4 separate regions of the Homo sapiens genome follow, and regions 1, 3 and 4 are each linked to region 2. Evidence: promoter capture Hi-C in human tissues and cell types (Jung and others, 2019). All regions are on one chromosome and are shown on one strand. The core of a region is centred on a gene start or on the middle of the fragment in contact, and the rest is flanking DNA. Distances in the headings are between cores, read along the strand shown. Region 1 overlaps NPSR1 (neuropeptide S receptor 1). Region 2 holds the start of NPSR1 (neuropeptide S receptor 1). Region 3 overlaps NPSR1-AS1 (NPSR1 antisense RNA 1). Region 4 overlaps NPSR1-AS1 (NPSR1 antisense RNA 1).

Region 1 (4,315 bases), core at 138-2,637, 100 kb before region 2:
TGCACAAGATCATTGCACAACATGGGGCTCAAACTGACTCTGAATATAAGACATAGACAACTTGTTTTCTCTTTTAAAGGATGCTATTTTCCTAATAAAAAGAATTCACAGAAATGATCTGGGATGTTTAGAAATCCAAGAGAAGGAGAGGAGAGTTCCATTTTCACTTATCCAAGAGGCAGGCTCTTCAAATGTCTTTTTCCCTTTGCCCAAGGAGAGCTAAGGGGTAGCAGGCTGAGATGGAAGTGGTAAATTGTAACAAAAAAATATTTGTTTCTCATCTCATTCTGCTGCAATCAGGTACACGCTTGTACATAGGGAAATGAGGCAGACATAGAGATATGCTGCTCAGATCCCCCTTCAAGAAAGACCTTGCTGTCCAGCTGTGAGGTATATGGTTTGCTGACATCCTCCAGCTGTTAGATTCCTCAGGGTTTGCCTCAGCTTTTTAGCTGGGATCATGCTATTCTTGGTACAACCTCTACCAATGACTAAGTTATAGTAGAAGAGTCTAATCATTTATACCCAACATGGAAATCCTAAAGGATTCCTGAGCTGCCAGAGACTGTCAGGTTAATGTCAGGCTCTGATGGGTCCTCCAGCCCAATCTTACTTCTTCCCTTTGCTTTCACAGGAGTGACTTCTCCCCAGATTTTTGTATACCTGACTCTGTTTCAGCATCCGCTTCCCAAAGAATGCAGTGTGAAGCAGGAGGTAAGGGAGGAAGGGGCCCAAGATCATTTCATTTTCTAGGGGTGGTCTTTGTGGTTGCCTCTGTTGCATAATGTAAGATCTTAGCAAAAATCCCATTTATTCAAAACTAAAGCCAGTGAGAAAGCTACTAGGATGCTAGAAATTACTACGTGATGATGACTGCTATGCTGAGTCTGTCTGTCAAGTAGCCTACATGCCTATGTTTAGGCATCACACTGGCTCCTCTTAGAGGTCTAAGAATCACTGATTCTTTGTAGAGATGTTATTGAGGACATTTTAGTGCTGTTTCATCAAAGTACTGAATATAAAGCTCCGTAGTATCAGTTTTCTTGATCAAGAAACATCTTGCTGTGCATTTCCCTCAAGATTACAACAAATTATATTTAGTCAGTTTTGCCCTTAGTTTTAGCCACTAACTAGGAAGCACAAAATAAAATATGATGGGTTGCAGTAACTTTGCAGTAACTCTAAGCTTAAATTTGACTTTTTTCCTCTGCAGTTATGATTTGATATTTTCCATGCCCTTTCTATTTCATTTCTTATTTTTCATTGTGTTGGGTATGTTCTTACATGCATGGGCAGTACACAGCATGGCTACTGGAGCCCGACTGTGGGATTTTGAATGTTGGCTCTGCTACATGACAGCTGTGCTATCTTGGGCTTGCTACTGACCACACGGAATCCAGGGCTCTTTGTAAAATTGTAATAAGAATGCCTGATTTATAGGGCTACTGTGAAGGTTAAATGAGATAGTTTATGTAAAATGTTTAGTAAAATGCTTGCCCTATAAAACCTGGGTAGCTGTTGTTGGTGCTGATGCAATGAATAGGGCCAATAACTAGACAGAGAGCTGCAAGAACTGGGGATGAGATGGTGTGTCTTAACATAAGTCCTAGACTCCTTGCCAACTTGCTAGAATAATGTTTTCTGCAAAAATTGACACATAAGAAGTAGAGGCTTTCTTTAAACTAGATCTAAAATGAAGACTGGCTATTTTATTTGCTATAATGCATGCCAGCTAATCCAATATATTTGATTAACACACTTGATCAGTCTAATATATTAGATTCTCACTATGGAAACAGTGGTGATTAAATTAACTGATGGCGGATAAGGTGAAAAGAACTAAGCCAATCCTTGAGAGACTAGAACACAAGATAGATTAGTTCAGGGATTGGGCCACTATTTATTAACAGGATTGCTACTTATGGGGCAATTCTGTGTTAGGATAGATGGTCCTGTGCAGGAAATTTGGCATGCCTGGGCTGTGCTTACTAAATGCCAGAAGTAACCCCTGCTGCCCCAGTCTTTGTGATAACTCCAAATATCCCACCATTTCCAAATGCCCCAGGACTGCTTCCTGTGAAGAACTATTGAGGTGTGGAAGGACATCTAGTGGTAGATTGGGAATATGACCCAGCATTTCTAGGTCAGTTTCAGTTTATACCCGCCATGATTATGCCTGTGGCCCTTTCTCTTAAATATGCCATGGTTTTACTTGGCTCATTGGAGATGGCTGATTCCTGGCCTGGGGCTGGGAAAAGGACAAGATAAGCCTGGAACATCATGTTGTGCTGGCAAGTGAGGACATGCCCAAAAATGCTGAGAAACATGTCAACAGAAACACGCACCAAATTGTAGGGCTCTTGCTGACCCCAGTCAGCAATCTAGGCATAAAAAGAAATAACTATGGCAACAAATTATAACCCACAGAATAAAAGAAGAACCTATGATGTAAATTTAAAAATGGGAGAGAAGGGAAATTTCTTCCTTAAAGTAGAGAGACTGCTAATAAGTATAGAAGAAATAATGAAATTAGAAAATCATCATTTGGAAACCTTTATAGCATTGATTCAGACAGGAATCTACACTGTATGGTAAGTGCTGTGAGTGAAAGTTTAAGGAGTATCAGGATGGCTATGTACTCTTAAAATACTTGTCAGTTGCAAAAGGAAAAATAGTATCTTTACAGTGGAGAAATCTGACAATAACATCACTAGTAATGGGACAAATTGATATACTGTGTCTGCTGATACTATATACTAAGAGGAACATAGCATCATTCCTGGTGTATAACTCTCAAAAGCACATAACCTTAATCTATTCAGAAGGAAACATCACACAAACCCAAAGTGAGAGAAACTCCACAAAATATCTAACCTATGCTATTTAAAAATGTTGATGTCATAAGATACAAAGAAAGACCAAGGAACTGTTCTAAGTTAAAGAACACTAAACGTACATGGCAACTGAATACAATACATGATTCGGGGTTTTTTGTGCTAAAAAGGATGTTCTTGGGATAATTGGTGACATTTAAAGCAGGTTTGCTGATTACCTGGGACATTTTTAGATGGATGGATAGGTAGATAGGTAGGTATTATAGATAGACTGATAGAGGAAATGATAAAGCAAATATGAAAAATATTAACATTTCAGGAATATGTGTACAGGGTACATGGGGGTATTTGTACTACTCTTGAAGATTTTCTGTAAACCTGAAATTATGTCAAAACAAGAAGCTAAAAATGAAAAATGTCCTGGTTGGGAAGACACATATGGTTGCTCAACCCATAGGGGAAGAGCTGGCAGAATATGATGGCTGTGACCTCTGCACGGTACTGAAGATATGGGCAACATGTTGAGCAAGGGCTGCTGTTATATTGAGAAGTGAGCTTTAGAATTGTTCAGCAAGTTTCTTCTTGTTCAGACCAGTATAGGCTTTCCTGGTAAGCTACTGTGCAATGTATTTGTTAATTATTAGCTCAGAGAGAGATTCAGCAAGTGGGCTTACATCTGTTCCCATGAAACACCATGAACTTCACACTCTCTGGGGAGGTCTAGGACTCAGAAATATAGATGTTAGTAAGAGCAAACAGACATAACAGATAACACATACAAAGTGCCTACCACATGCTAACCACTGCTGCAGGCACTTTCTATAGAAGAACTAATTTAATCATCACCATAACCCTATGGGGTAGATGATATTTTTACAACCTCCATTTTACAGATGAAGAAACTGAAGCATAGACCTGGTGAGTAACTCACCCAAGTATTAGTATGGAGGGGAGCTGGGATTGAAACACCAGTTATGGTCATTCCAGAGGATGAATGCTCTCTTCACCACTCTCCTCTTCTGCTTCCTGAGGGGCTCTGAGCAATGAAACTCTTCTTTCCAGATTGTGCTTATAAAGCAAACGAGGTGTCCAGGATTAGACCTCTAGAAGAGTCTGAGCTGTTGTACCCCATACTGGGGCAAAGTAAGTTGTTTGTGCTGAGTGGGGAGTGGAGCCAAAGCTCAGAGGAGGCATCGGAAGGTAGGAGCAGATATGCGGAGCAGACTAGCAGAACAGTCGCATGGCCAGAAGAAAGCTGGAGGGTTGGGCCGAGGTTGGGTCACTAGATAGCAGAGTGAGAGGAAGCAATGCCCAGCCTAGTGGGTGGCTGATCAAGGCAGAAACTGGGGGGTCAGTGTAAGAACAGGCTGGGCTTCAGAGCCAGAACTCATACACAAAATATTCTGGATTTATTCCTTGGGAAGGCTGTGTTCCAGTGTGTCTGATAAGGCCTTGGCCTCATCTTTCTGGTGGCACTCACC
Region 2 (4,509 bases), core at 1,988-4,487:
AGTCAGGAGCCTAGGTAAGTGGACGGAGCAAGACAGCTGAGACTAGGTAAGGCTGCCATGCAATAGAGATGGATTCCCCAGGGCTGGACCAGGTACTTGGTACCAGCTCATGGTGCCTCAGCTAATTCCATACCCCACCCACTGGAATCTAGAACCGACTTTGGTCTCATTGGCTTAGAAATGGAATAGGGACAAGCTGAACATGCTTGCAGAAAGGGACCTGGGTGAGTATAGAGACCAGGCAGGGTAGGGGCTGATGGGTGGAAACTTGGTTAATGAGAGCCCCCACCCACCTCTGTCACAGGGAATACATGCTTTCTGTTGCTTATTTGACAAAATGTTGGTAATTGGAAGAAAAAACACATCACAATTTGTTTATGCAGTCAATGTTTATTGAGTATGACTAACATAGTGGTAGGTCCTGGGAGAAAATATGAAACAAATATAAGGCATTCATTTTACTCAAGGAGCTTGAGGACTGTAACACATTCAGCCAACACATATGGAAATAGCAGTTTAAGACAGAACTGCATTAAGTGGCAAGAAGAGAGGTACAGTCCGTGACACTAATGAAGCTCAGGGAGGGATGAGTCAGGGAGGGATGAGTCAAGGAGGGCTTCATGGAGGAAGCAACCCAAGCTGAGCTTTATAGACTGGGTAAAATTGAGATAAACAGATGAAGATGGAAGGCAGGACCGGAAGGAAAGATACACCATGGATTGTGAGAATTAAATGAGATACTTCACAGAAGTCACTTGCTAAGTGAGTCTTGCTATGACTCTTGGCACCAAGAATGCCCAAAGTAAATGAGACGTATGGTTGTTGCTGTTATTTCTGTGACTTTTACTGCTGCTGCTATTTTTATTTTCATGCTATTTTTTTTACTGCTTTTGATGAAGGCAATGGGGATTAAAGGGGATACATCTGGGAGACAGTAAAGGGAGCATGGTTTCGAATTTCTTCTCTAGAAGTATGTCAGATAAAATGAATTGCAGTGAACAAGGGCTTGCATTGGAACTATTTCTGTATCAACAATGCATTAGAATTGCTTGTGCCCAAAGGGGATCATAGAAAAAAAGTTACACTAAGAAATATAAGCTAAGTTCTCACAAATACCACCAGTAATCACTGTGTAACTAAAAATCACAGGGTTTTAGTCAATACACGTATCTCTCAAATAATGAATCTGAGCATTCTAAGCTCCTGGCCAAACACAATTCCTGTCTTTCTGCTTTTCTCCTTGTCCAGTGGTCCAGCCGTTTTGCTGCAAACATATCAATAGGAATCAGCTAGAGATGCTGTGATTCTCTTTAGTGTCTGGCGATGATGTTGCTAGGATAGAGAGGACAAACACTCATAGAGAGCAAGGTGGGATTTGTTTCTTCACATATTCCAAATATCCCTGTAGGTGCTATATTCAAAAAATGGCAAATGAGATTTCAGCTGAGATTGATTCTTGCCAGAGTCTCAGAATAACCACCTTATTGCTGATTTTATTCCCTTTGCAATGGAGGGCCTCTCTTCATTCTGCTTGCTATCATGTTCTAAGAATATCAAAGAGGCTACACAGGCAGCAATACTGAGTGGAGTCCTGTGCTTCCTGGGTGCACACAGCCTGCCAAGACAGACTCTCTGGGTCTGCAGGCTGATTTCATAAAGGGGATTATTCAGTCGACATTAAGTGGCAACAAACTCTAATTTTACTTTCTAAGCTACATCGTGGAGCTGTGCAGCTGGGCTGCGTATGTGCATATGCATTAGGAGGTGATTCCAAGGGACAGGGTTTCACTGAAGCCAGTGGAGGAGTAGTTTGCTCAGGTTCTGCTTTGCTGCAGGATCATTAGGGCCCTGGAAGTTTAAGTCTGACTCCTGGGACAGCACCCTGCTGAAAGTTTTATTCTGAATATTTGCAAAAGAAGTGAACTTCCAGTAGGGAGGTGGATGTTACAGTAATGCTATCTCATTGTGTAAAAACCAAATCATTTCAAGAACATACAGAGGATTAACAACAACAACAACAACAAAACCCAACAAAGCAACAACTAGAATCTTTTTGAAGTATTTTTTCTTCAGTGGAAAGGACCAGTTTGAGACCTGTGAATTATTGCAATGACTAAACATATCGTTAGACAGGTGTGAAATAACCTGACAACCCAGCATTCTGAGGCAAGAAGCAGGAAACTGTTCTTTTCCCAAATGTGCGGTTCATTTCTGTCCACAAGATCTTGTTGCGGAATAAGAAACAATACAGTATTAGCTTAATGAAGATCCTTCCTCAGTGTGGCCCTTGGATACTTTGAAGGTGAAACTCACCAAACTCTCTGTCCTTCATTTGTTCTAGGAGGTAATTTGTTGCAAATGGTGGCATCATCAACTACCCTCAAAGAAATATATTCCTCACTGATGTTTAATGAAAAGGATCATCAAAGAAAGTGTCGTCCTTCCTGCCTTATTCAATGTTGTTTCTCATCATATCAGTCACTGTCCTGGGGATTGTGAGCTTTCCGCATCTCTGGTGTTCCTAGCAAAAAACTCATAGCTCTAACCCCTACTAGAAACAGACATTTCAAGTACTGCTATAGGATTAATTAAAAGTGCTTTCACCTAAGGAAAGGGGGAAAGTAAAAATCATCCACTCATAAATGTTACTCACGATTCACACATTTCCAGCAGCATCAGAAAGAAAAACGTCACCTGTATTCCTAAGAAACTACAATCTAGGTCTCTGCACACTACAGCTTGTTGTTTTAGCACTTCAGACTTTTAAAAATCCTTTTTAGTAAAGAAAATAACACTCATTCACAATACTGGCTATGATACTTCAATTGACACTCTTAAGTTCCAGCAGTCTCATTGTTATAAGTCAGTGTTCAGAGTCGCAGGCAAGAAACTTACCTTAAAGGAGTAGTAGAAGGAACCCCATTCCTTTCCTTCCACCACTTCAGTAAAAGTCACTGTTTCAGTGCAAGCCACTGGGGAAGAATCCAGCGTCTGCCCGGTCCCACTGGAATCGAAGCTGCCCTCTGTGAAGTTGGCTGGCATGGCTCAGGCGGGGTTGAGCCTCACTGTCCTTGCTCCTGCAGCTGAGTGAGGGAGTCCAGCTTGCCTCCTGAGAGCTGGGCAGCAGCTGCAGCTCTGCTGAACGGAGGCACAGAGCCCTCCCTGAGCCCACCTCACTGAAGAGCTCTGCCTGATGACAGGGAGGATCTACGTGCTGCTCTCTCCTTGGCAATTACCACCAGGTAGCCAGCATAGCACAACCCTCATCACCCCACAGTCCCACCCAGGGCCAGGGCCCCACCCCAAGAGCAAGGTGGAGCTCCCCATAGCCATCGACATGGCTCCCTGGATGAGACCCCTGTTCTGTTTTGCTTTTCCTTACTTCCACGGTGGACCCCCACTTCTGCTCCAGCTTCAACAATAAAGGAATTTGGACTAATCAGTAGGTGCATGAATTCGGGTCATGTTTCCACTTCTGAAATCAAATTATAATTATGCATTTGTTTCAGCTGAGGTTGCTTTCTGACTTAAAGCCTCACCTTGCCATCTACTGTGTCATGTGCTCTTATTTCCGTAAGTGTAGGCAAATAGTACGTTTGTATTTCACACCCTTAGTTCTATCTAGGTGTTCACAGGGCGGTTCTCAGAGAAACATGAGGTCTGTGTTTGTCAATAAGCTACAACACCTTGTGATATGACTGGGAGGGGCCTGGTGAAGATTCTTACTGCTTTCAGTATATTCACCTCAGCTTCTACCTAGGACCAATACTCAGGGCGAGGGTAGAAAGGAGGTAATGCAGCATCCTGGGCACCACAGACAGGGCTAGGCGAGAATACTAACAGCTATTCCTGTTTCACAAAAAACCTGCAAAGCACATTTACACGTTCTTTCATTCAGTTTCCCAAACAACCTTGTGAGATAGGCAGGGAAGGTATCTTTATGTTCTCCTTTATGCTAGCAGAGAGTGGCTCCAATAGGTGAAATGACTTGCCCAAGATCCCGCAGCTGCTGATGTAAATGAGCTGATAACCCATCTCCAGAACTTCCTAGACAGTGGTGCTTTTACTGTAACAGACTGGTTTGCATCAAATCTCAAATGTCTATGGGGCATGAAGGTAACATGAATGAGGGTAGCAGGCCAGGTATAAAACAATGGGAACTAAGCTGCTTATATGACAACCAAGCACAATACCTGATTCCTCACATTGAGAACACTCTGTGAACCAACCAGGTCCAGCCACTGGTTTATGGCACCTGGAATAAGAGGTAGTAGCTTTAGTGGCCACCACTAAAGAACCTGGCCCCCATGAGATCTCCTGGGGAAGCTTTATTATAAACCATCGAGCCCCAAGGAGGGCACAGTGCTCTAGCAATGAGAAGGCATTGAGTCTATAATGAAGGGCAGCAAACAGAAGTGAGTTGTGTAGAAAACTGGATAAGCTGTGGACTCTTAAGGAAAGGTTCAAAACAGGACAACAACTCAATAGCAAAACAAGTGCAGCATATTC
Region 3 (4,805 bases), core at 257-2,756, 68 kb after region 2:
TTGCATTTATTGAAATAATTATTTCTTTAATTTTTTTCTGTTAATGTATAGAATTACATTGATTTTCAAATATTAAACTGATATGGTTTGGATTTGTGTCCCCACCCAAATCTCATCTCAACTTGTAATTTGATAGTATAATCCCCACATGTCTGGGGAGAGGCCTGGTGGGAGGTGATTGGATCATGGGGGTGGTTTCCCCCATGCTGTTCTGCCACTGTCAGATGCAATGTTCTATACATGCCAGTTAGGTCAATTTTTAAAAATTTGTCTCTCTGATCTTGTATATTCTTACTCATTTCTTATTTTTAATTCTATTTGCTTCTTATATTGTTTTTCATATTTAAAAATTCCCAAATCATTTTTAGAAAGTAAGTAGTGAGGATTAAATCTACCAGAGAATATGCCCTAATACCAGGACATTGTCATAAAGGAAAAAAAATAGGTGGGCTACTGGTTCAGGTACAAGCAGGTAAATATAATTCCATGGACAGTCAGAAACTGAGCCATGTATTTGGGGGAACTTAATGTAAGATGGTACCATGTCAATGAGGGAGAAGATATATTATTAATAGAAGCTCATGTGTAAAGAGCTATATATCATTCAAAATACAAGAATTAATTCCAGTGAATTATAAATATTAAAAGTCAAAATAAAGATAACAGGAAAAAAGTAGAGGAGGTTATCTTTCTGACTTCAGGTCAGACAGATATTCTTAAAGAGGACCTTAGAAATATAACTCACAATGTGAAAAATTAAGATTTTATTACATCAAAAATGGAGATTTCTATCAAATGAAAACACCATAGACAAAATTAATAGACAGACAATGGATTGGAGGAAGATACTTGTCAAAACTAAGACTGACAAGAGATTAGAATTTAGAATATTTGAGATTTCTTCCAAATCATTCGGGAAAAATCAAAACACCAAAAGGAAAAGTAGACAAATGTGTATACTCAAATCTCAGAAGTGAAAAATTAAATGGCTCTTAAGTATATGAAGTGACAGTCAAACTTACTAATTAATAAGATGTGAATTATGACAGTGGTGAACCACTACATTATACTCATTACATTAACAAAAGTTAATGACAAGTATTGGAAAGAATGAAAGGAAATTAACCACATGGACAAGTAGATGATAATGAAAAATGGTACAGACAATGTGGAAAGCAATTCAAAAGTACTTTGGGAAGACAAGAATATATATTCTTATATATTATCCTGTGTCCCAGCTAAAGTTTTGCAGAGGTCCATAATGGAAAGCTCATGGGGGATGATGTTCATTGCCTTATTCCTTGTGATAAAAAAATCCTAAATAATGTATAATCATAATGTGATATATGATTACTTGGGAAGGAGGAAAAAGGGAATGAAGATTGGGGATTTTAAGGAAAGAAACATGGAACAAGAATCAGTCCTGTGGAAAATAAACAAGACATGGTCCTTCCATGTGTGGATGATGGCAGTTAATGTTTCATGAGTGGAGAAGTGCGATAACTTCAACTCTTCATTTTGCAGTTCCAAAACAAAACAGACAAAACCACCCCAAAACACCCTTTGACATATATCTTTGCAGACCAGCCTTGTACATGTTAGGGAAAGCTTCACCAAATTGGTATGTTAGATTAAAAAAAAATGCATTTTAAATTTTCATACATTTTGCCAGGCAACTTCTTTATTCGCTGTTTCAAAATTTTTTCTTACATAGTCTTATTAATTTATACCTTAGGTTGAATTTAGAGTGAACTAATCAGGTTCTAAAAGAAACCCATGGGGATTTATGTTCGAATTGCATTCTAATAGGGAATCGCAACTTAGCATTACATTAAATTAATAGCTTAATTTATGGGTAATTGACCTACTTTCAATCTGAGGAAATATAAGCATAAAACTAAGAAGAAATTATAAGTGAAAACATTAAAATGTTAATGATGATTTTTCTTGGATAATGGGACTACATGTACTTTTTTCCTCTGTCCACTTTTCTGGGTATCCAAATTTTCTTTAATATGCACACTCTACTTTTAAGTGAAAGCATTTATTTAAAAACTGAACCATACACTAATAGAGCTGAGAGGGATGGTTATTTTCAAAACTAGTTTTTTTCCTTTTTAATGAGAAGAGAGATTCAGGAGCCACATTTTAAATGTTAGAAATTATTCATCAAAGTTGCATTTAATGATTACAGAAATAAAAAAAATTGATATCATAGTTTCAGTTGAGTAAAACTACTTTCCTTGTTCATGAAGTAATGTTTTAAAACCAAATGGGTCTCATTATGTGGTGTGGTCCCTGAGGACAATGTTATCAAGGTTCTCTAATGAAGCATGGAGCAACCGTTTCTGTTTTTGGTTCTAACATATTTAATGCTCAGAAATAGCTAGAAGGCAAGAGGAGTAGATTCCAACTGGGAGACATCAGCTCATCCTGTCAGGGCGATGAACCGCAGAGTGCAGTACTTTTCCAAAAGTGAAGAAGAATAAACTTTGGGGTTGTACTCTTTCCTAGCAACAAATACAGCAGTATATCAAAAGTCCACTTTGTAAGTTCTTTCTGAACAATTGGGAATATCTACTGAAGTCTGTGACTACCTAGAAACTGAAGATGAGGCAGCTGCACATCTGTACATTTCAACTCCATCCTAATTCTATTAATTTTGAAGGGGTGGTAATAAAGAAGGAGAAAACTGGGAGTTGGCAAGGGGCACGAGAGACACAGAAAGTGAAAAAGCATGTAGATGTGTTGTAGCAAGGAGCCAAGTCAAGGAACTCTGGGCGTAGCACTGCTGCATGGGGTCTGAGAGGCTGGAGGGAGGTAAGTCAGCTGTATGAGTGGTTTCTCCCACTACTTGATCCAGAGTGTTCTGCAGGAAGCAACAGAAGAAGCTTCCATTACAGGTGAAGTTCCATTACAGGTAACTTCCATTACAGGTGAAGTTAAGGGCTCTATCATAAGCCCTTTACCTGAGATGAGCAGAATATGAAATTAGAAGGCATAAATATTGGACTTTAACAAGCAAAAGTGTTAATTTTTGGACTTTAATTTCCCTCTGAAATTTGATTAGGGGAGCAGTTTTAGTAATCAAATTCAAGATATCTATCTATTTGGCATTTTATTCATTCATTTTTATTCAAAACCTCTGATATGCTCTCTGGATGTAATTTGGCATGAGAAATAAAATAGAGGACAAATTTTCAGCCTTGGGAACCAAATGACCCTGGGGTTGTCCTAATTAATTAGCTGTTCTGACCAATTGCTGAATGTGGTGGAGGCAAATTACAATTGGCCATCAGCACCCTCATGAGGATACATAGAGACGCAGAGGTCAGTGCTGGAGATGGGCTTAGTGAAGGTGAAGCAGGTCTGTCCTGTAGACCTGGGCCACTCTTCTCCCATGAGGGAGCAGCCGTATTCATCGGTGACAAAAAGCTTAATGGTCAAGCTCAATAGACTAAGATAAAAATGAGCTTGGCAGTGGAAGGGTAGGGGGCTGGTACCATTCTCTCCCTTCATACGGAGGGACATCCATAGGCATTACAAGCCTGCTTCCCAGAGTAACTGATTTGATTGGTGAGTTATATAGAGGAAACACACCTAGTCTCTCTCTCCCTTCCCTCTTGGGTGAAGCTGCCCTTCGGAGCAACACTTCCCTCTGCTCTCCCACATTGTAATTCTCACTTCTTAGCAGGATCAAGAATCTACAGGAAGCTTCAGGAGCTCTGCTCTGGTCCAGCTTGTACTAAGATAGATATCTATTTAGTTTGAGTCACTTTCTTCTATCATTTCCTTGCTCTAAGCTCCCTTGGGACCCATTCTTCCTGCAGACAGCAGGGACTCTTACTTTCCTCCATGCTTTCCATTTTGGAAGTGGCTACTCCCCTCAGACCCTTTCCTACCAAGGAATTTCCTGTTTAAAAGCCCACTTGACCACAGATATAAGTGCTCTTCTCCAACCTTGCCTCTAGTAGCCATTTCCAGGAATAAGAGAGTATTTTGTTTATTCCTTGACTTATTTTTCACTTGAGTGAATATCAGTACATGGGTATTGTAGAGGCCAAGTGCAGTGTTCAACACTTGGCCTGTGTGAACACAGGGAATCATGGTACTACTACACTGAACAAAGACTTTCAACTACCATGCATTTTCATGGTCATTACCTGAGTTATATTCATCCTTTCGTAACCTGTGGATGAAGAAAAATGTCAAGGAAGATAGTCTGTAGTCTCTCAAGTGTGTTTTATCATCTGATGGTCTATTAGCTTTTCAATTAAGTAGAAGATGTAAGCTGTTGATCTGAAGGGAACATGGACCAACCCCATGGTGTGGTATGCTGTGGCCAGGTTGTACTGGCTCAGGAGAGAGTGGCTGTGGGCACCTCTTACAAACCCTGCACTTAGTGACATCGCTTTGGTAGCTTGAAAACAACAATGATTAGGGCATTTACACTAAGAAAATTGGCAAATATGACAAATCAAGGCTTTATGTAATGGTCAGTCTTTCCAGCACCCCACTTTCTCCATTGCTAATATCTCCACAGCAGTTTTTTTATTACAGGGTTTAAGTACATATCATAAACCAGTACTGAATTTGATGACTGAGAGTTGTGACTTTATTTAGCTATCCATATCTTTGAACTTGGAAGGAGAGTGAGAGACTGAGAGGGAACTCAGAGACAAGACCTGCTCATTAGGTCTTTGGAAGGCATCCCATGTGGGACCTTCCCTCTTTCAACCAGCTCTCTCCCTCTCTACAGTCCTCTGTACTTCTTTACCTCTTCATTCTCACCTCCTTTCACAGGA
Region 4 (4,778 bases), core at 546-3,045, 100 kb after region 2:
ATTTGTCATTCTCCCATTAAGAGCTGGCATCTAGAGCTTGCAATTGTCTCAAGAGGTGGACTGGATTTAGTGATTTACTTGTAACCAAAATAATTTGGCAGGGGAGAAACGGTGAAATCTTCAAGTCTAGTTCAGAAGAAGTAATGCCACTTTTGCTTTGACTTCTTGAAGTGCCCACTCTCTGAATGTCCCCTCTCAGGATTGTCTCTCTCAGAATCTATTCACCATGCAGTGAGAAGCTGCATAGAGAGGCTGTATGGAGGTTCCCACTCAGCCTAGTCTTCAAGTTACCTCAGCCTCAGTCTCGTAGTAGACACATTAAGGAGGAAGTCCTCCAATAATTACAACCTCCAGCCATTTTACTATTTAACAGCAGTTCTTCGCTGCTAGCTCCAAGTATATTGTGGATCAGAAAAAAATTACCCCTTGCTGCTCCTGTCTAAATTTCTGACTCATAGAATCCAGAATATACTTCAATAAAAGTATAATTGTTAAATGTCATTTCTTTTGGCATAGCAACCTCTATATTTTGTTTATTTTTAAACTTTTAGGTTCAGAAGTTACATGTGCAGTTTTGTTATATAGGTAAACCCATGTCATGGGGGTTTGATGTACAGATTATTTCCTCAACCAGATACTGAGCCTAGTAGCCGATAGTTACTTTTTCTGCTCCTCTCCCTCTTCCCAACCTCCACCTTCTGATAGGCCCCAGTGTCTGTTGTTCGCCTTTTTGTGTCCATGTGTTCTCATCATTTAGCTCCCACTTATGAGTGAGAGCATGTGGTATTTGTTTTTCTGTTCCTGCATTAGTTTGCTAAGGATAATGGCCTCCACTTCCATCCAGGTTTCTGCAAAAAATATGATCTCATTATTTTTTTTATGGCTGCATGGCATCCCATGCTATATATTTACCACATTTTCTTTATCCAGTCTTCCGCTGATGGGCAATTAGGTTGATTCCATGTCTTTGCTATTGTGAATAGTGCTGCTATGAGTATACACGTAGACGTGTCTTTATGACAGAATGACTTACATTCCTTTAAGTATATACCCAGTAATGGAATTGCTGAATCAAATGGTAGTTCTATTTTTAGCTCTTTGAGGAATTGCTACACTGATTTCCACAATACTTGAACTAATTTACAGTCCCCCACCAACAGCATATAAGCGTTCCCTTTTCTCTGCAACCTCACCAGCATCTGTTATTTTTTGACTTGTTAATAATAGCCATTCTGATTAGTGTGAGGTGATATCTCACTGTGGTTTTGAATTGCATTTCTCTAATGATCAGTGATGTTGAGCTTTCATTCATATGCTCGTTAGTTGCATGTATGTCTTCTTTTGAAAAGTGTCTGTTTCTGTCCTTTGCCCACTTTTTAATGAGGTTGTTTTTATCTTATAAATTTGTTTAAGCCCCTCACAGATGTTAGATATTAGACCTTTGTCAGATGCATAGTTTGCAAATATTTTCTCCCATTCTGTAGATTGTCTCTTTGTTGATAGATTCTTTTGCTGTTCAGAAGCTCTTCAGTTTAATTAGATCCTGTTTGTCAATTTTTGCTTTTGTGTGATTGCTTGGAATCTTTGTCATGAAAGCTTTGCCAGTTCCTATGTCCATAATGGTATTGCATAGGCTGTCTTCTAGGGTTTTTATTGCTTTTGGTTTTTCGTGTCAGTTCTCTTGAGTTGATTTTTATATATGGTGTAAGGAAGGGGTTCAGTTTTAATTTTCTGCATATGGCTAGCCAGTTATCCTAACCCGATTTATTGAATAGGGAGTCCTTTCCCCATTGCTTGTTTTTGTCAGCTTTGCCAAAGATCAGATGGTTGTATATGTACAGCCTTATTTCTGAGCTCTCTACTCTGTTCTGTTGGTCTATGTGTTTGTTGTTATACCACTGCCATTCTGTTTTGATTACTGTAGCCTTGTAATATAGTTTGAAGTTGGGTAGTGGGATGACTCTTTCTTTGTTCTTTTTGCTTAGAATTACCTTGGGTATTCAGGCTCTTTTTTGTTTTCATATGAATCTTAAAATAGGTTTTTCTAGTTCTATGAAGGGTGTCATTAGTAGTTTGATAGGAATAGCATTGAATCTGTAAATTGCTTTGGGCAGTATGAACATTTTAATGATATTGATTCTTCCTCTCCAAGAGCATGGGATGCTTTTCCACTTGGTTGTGTTATCTCTGAGTTCTTTGATCAGCGTCTGTAATTTTGATTGCAGAGATCTTTCACCTCCTGATTAGCTTTATTCCTAAGCATTTTATTCTTTTTGTGGCAATTGTGGATGGAATTGAGTTCCTGATTTGCTCTTGGCCTGGCTAGTGTTAATGTATAGGAATGCTAGTGATATTTGTACATTTATTTTGTATCACAAAACTTTGCTGAAGTTATTTATCAGCTTAAGGATTTTTTGGTCCAAGACTATGGGGTTTTCTAGATATAGAATCATGTCATCTGCAAACAAGAATATTTTGACTTCTTTTCTTCTTATTTGGTTCCCCTTTCTTTCTTTCTTTTGCCTGATTGCTCTGACCAGGATTTCCAATACTATGTTCAATAGGACTGGTAAGAGAGAGCGTCCTTTTCTTGTGCTGGTTTTCAAGGGGAATGCTTCCAGCTTTTGTCCATTCAATATGATGTTGACTGTGGGTTTGTCACAGATGGCTCTCATTATTTTGAGGTATGCTCTTTTAATACCTAGTTTGTAGAGACACTTAACATTAGGGGATGTTGAATTGTATTGAAAGCCTTTTCTGCATCTATCGAGATGATCGTGCAGTTTTTGCCTTTAGTTCTGTTTATATGATGAAACACATTTATTTATTTGCATATGTTGAACGAATCTTTCATCCCAGGGGTAAAGCCTACTTGATCGTGGTGGATTAACTTTTTGATATGTTTCTGGATTTTGTTTGTTAGTTTTTGTTGAAGATTTTTGCATCAATGTTCATCAAGGATATTGGCCTGAAGTTTCCTTTTTTTGTTGTGTCTGTGACAGGTTTTGTTCACAGTATGATGCTGTCCTCATAGAATGAGTTGGGTAGGAGTCCCTCCTACTCAATTTTTTTTGAATCGTTTTAGTAGGAATGATGCCATCACTTCTTTGTACGTCTGGTGCAATTCAGCTATGAATCCATCTGTTCCTGAGCTTTTTTCGTTGATAGGCTATTTATTACTAATTCAATTTCAGAGCTCATGATTGGTCTGTTCAGAAATTCAGTTTGTTCCTGGTTCAGTCTTGTGAGGCTGTATGTGTCTAGGAAGTTATCCATTTGTTCTAGATTTTCTAGTTGGTGTGCCTAGAGGTGTTTATAATAGTCTGGTAGTTATTTGTATTTCTGTAGGGTCAGTGGTAACAACTCCTTTGTCATTCCTAATTATGCACATTTGGATCTTCTCTCTTTTCTTCTTTACTAGTTTAGTTAGTGGTCTGTCTATCTTTCAAATGTTTTTTGAAAAACCAGCTCCTGGATTTGTTGATTTTCGGAATGGTTTTCCATGTCTCAATCTCCTTTAGTTCAACTCTGATTTTGATTATTCGTTTTCTTCTACTCACTTTGGGGTTGGTTTGCTCTTGCTTCTTTAGTTCTTCTAGTTGTTATGTGAGATCTTTCTAACTTTTTTATGTGGGCATTTAGTTCTAAAAATGTCCCTAATAATACAGCCATAGCTGTGTCCCAGAGATTCTGCTATGTTTTATCTTTGTTCTTATTAGTTTCAAAGAACTTCTTGATTTACACCTTAATTTCATTATTTACCCAAAAGTAATTCAGCAGCATGTTGTTTAATCTCCATGCAAATTTATGTGTGTGTGATTTTCTTCATTTTGAATTCTATTTTATTTCACTGTGGTCTGAGAGTCTGGATGGTATAATTTCAGTTTTTAAAAATTTGCTGGAGATTATTTTATGTCTGAGTGTATGGTTAATTTTATAGTATGTGCCATGTGCAGTTGAGAAGAATGTATATTCTGTTGTTTTGGGGTGGAGAGATCTGTAGATGGCTATCAGATCTATTTGGTCCAGTGTTGAGTTAGGTCCTGAATATCTTTGTTAATGTTCTGTCTCAATTATCTGTCTTATACTATTAGTGGGGTGTTGAAGTCTCTTACTATTATTGTGTGCGAGTCAAAGTTTGTTTGTAGGTCTCTAAGAATTCGCTTCATAAATTTGGGTGCTCCTGTGTTGGATGCATACATATTTGGGACACTTACATCTTAGTGTTGAATTGAACCTTTTACCATTATTTAATGCCCTTCTTTGTCTTTTTTGATCTTTGATGGTTTAAAGTATGTTTTATTTGAAATTAGGATTATAATTCCTACTTTTTTTCTGTTTTCCATTTGGCTGATAGGTTTTTCTCCATCCCTGTATTCCGAGCCTATGAGTGTCATTAAATGTAAGATAGGTCTCTTGAAGACAGCATACAATTGGGTCTTGCTTCCTTATCTAGTTTGCTACTCTGTGCCTTTTAATTGGAGCATTCAGCATGTTTACATTCAAGGTTAGTATTGATATCTGTCAATTTAATTCTCCCATCAGGTTGTTAGCTGTTTATTATGACAACTTGTTTATGTGGTTGCTTTATAGGGTTACTGGTCTGTGTACTTAAGTGTGTTTTTGTAGTGGCGGGTAATGGTCTTTCCTTTTCACGTTTACTGCATCTTTCAGGAGCTCTTGTAAAGTAGGTGATGTGATAGTGAATTTCCTCAGTCTTTGCTTGTCTGTAAAGGATCTTATTTCTCTTTCACTTATGAAGCTTAGTTTGACTGGGT

What was found. Contacts are between HindIII fragments. The study calls those that stand out against the background at their distance.
Region 1: a fragment that was not itself captured here is called in contact with the fragment with the promoter of NPSR1 in region 2 in 2 of the 25 tissues and cell types used here (H1 embryonic stem cells and small bowel).
Region 3: a fragment that was not itself captured here is called in contact with the fragment with the promoter of NPSR1 in region 2 in 3 of the 25 tissues and cell types used here (H1 embryonic stem cells, adrenal gland and small bowel).
Region 4: a fragment that was not itself captured here is called in contact with the fragment with the promoter of NPSR1 in region 2 in 2 of the 25 tissues and cell types used here (adrenal gland and ovary).

What each region holds. Positions count from the first base shown.
Region 1 is chr7:34,757,511-34,761,825 of GRCh38, reverse strand. The region is part of intron 2 of NPSR1 (neuropeptide S receptor 1); the gene reads right to left. NPSR1-AS1 (NPSR1 antisense RNA 1) reads left to right here and starts at 3,554. Exons shown (of 4, transcript NR_033665.1): 1 at 3,554-3,752. The HindIII fragment of the contact is 3,418 bases long and covers 1-3,096 here.
Region 2 is chr7:34,656,946-34,661,454 of GRCh38, reverse strand. NPSR1 (neuropeptide S receptor 1) reads right to left here and starts at 3,237. Exons shown (of 9, transcript NM_207172.2): 1 at 2,896-3,237. The coding sequence starts at 3,042. The region is part of intron 2 of NPSR1-AS1 (NPSR1 antisense RNA 1); the gene reads left to right. RefSeq lists an enhancer at 361-1,198. The HindIII fragment of the contact is 11,658 bases long and covers 1-4,509 here.
Region 3 is chr7:34,586,765-34,591,569 of GRCh38, reverse strand. The region is part of intron 2 of NPSR1-AS1 (NPSR1 antisense RNA 1); the gene reads left to right. Among named protein-coding and RNA genes, the nearest start is that of NPSR1, 69 kb to the left of the region's middle. The HindIII fragment of the contact is 5,620 bases long and covers 1-4,316 here.
Region 4 is chr7:34,554,436-34,559,213 of GRCh38, reverse strand. The region is part of intron 2 of NPSR1-AS1 (NPSR1 antisense RNA 1); the gene reads left to right. Among named protein-coding and RNA genes, the nearest start is that of NPSR1, 100 kb to the left of the region's middle. The HindIII fragment of the contact is 8,266 bases long and covers 1-4,778 here.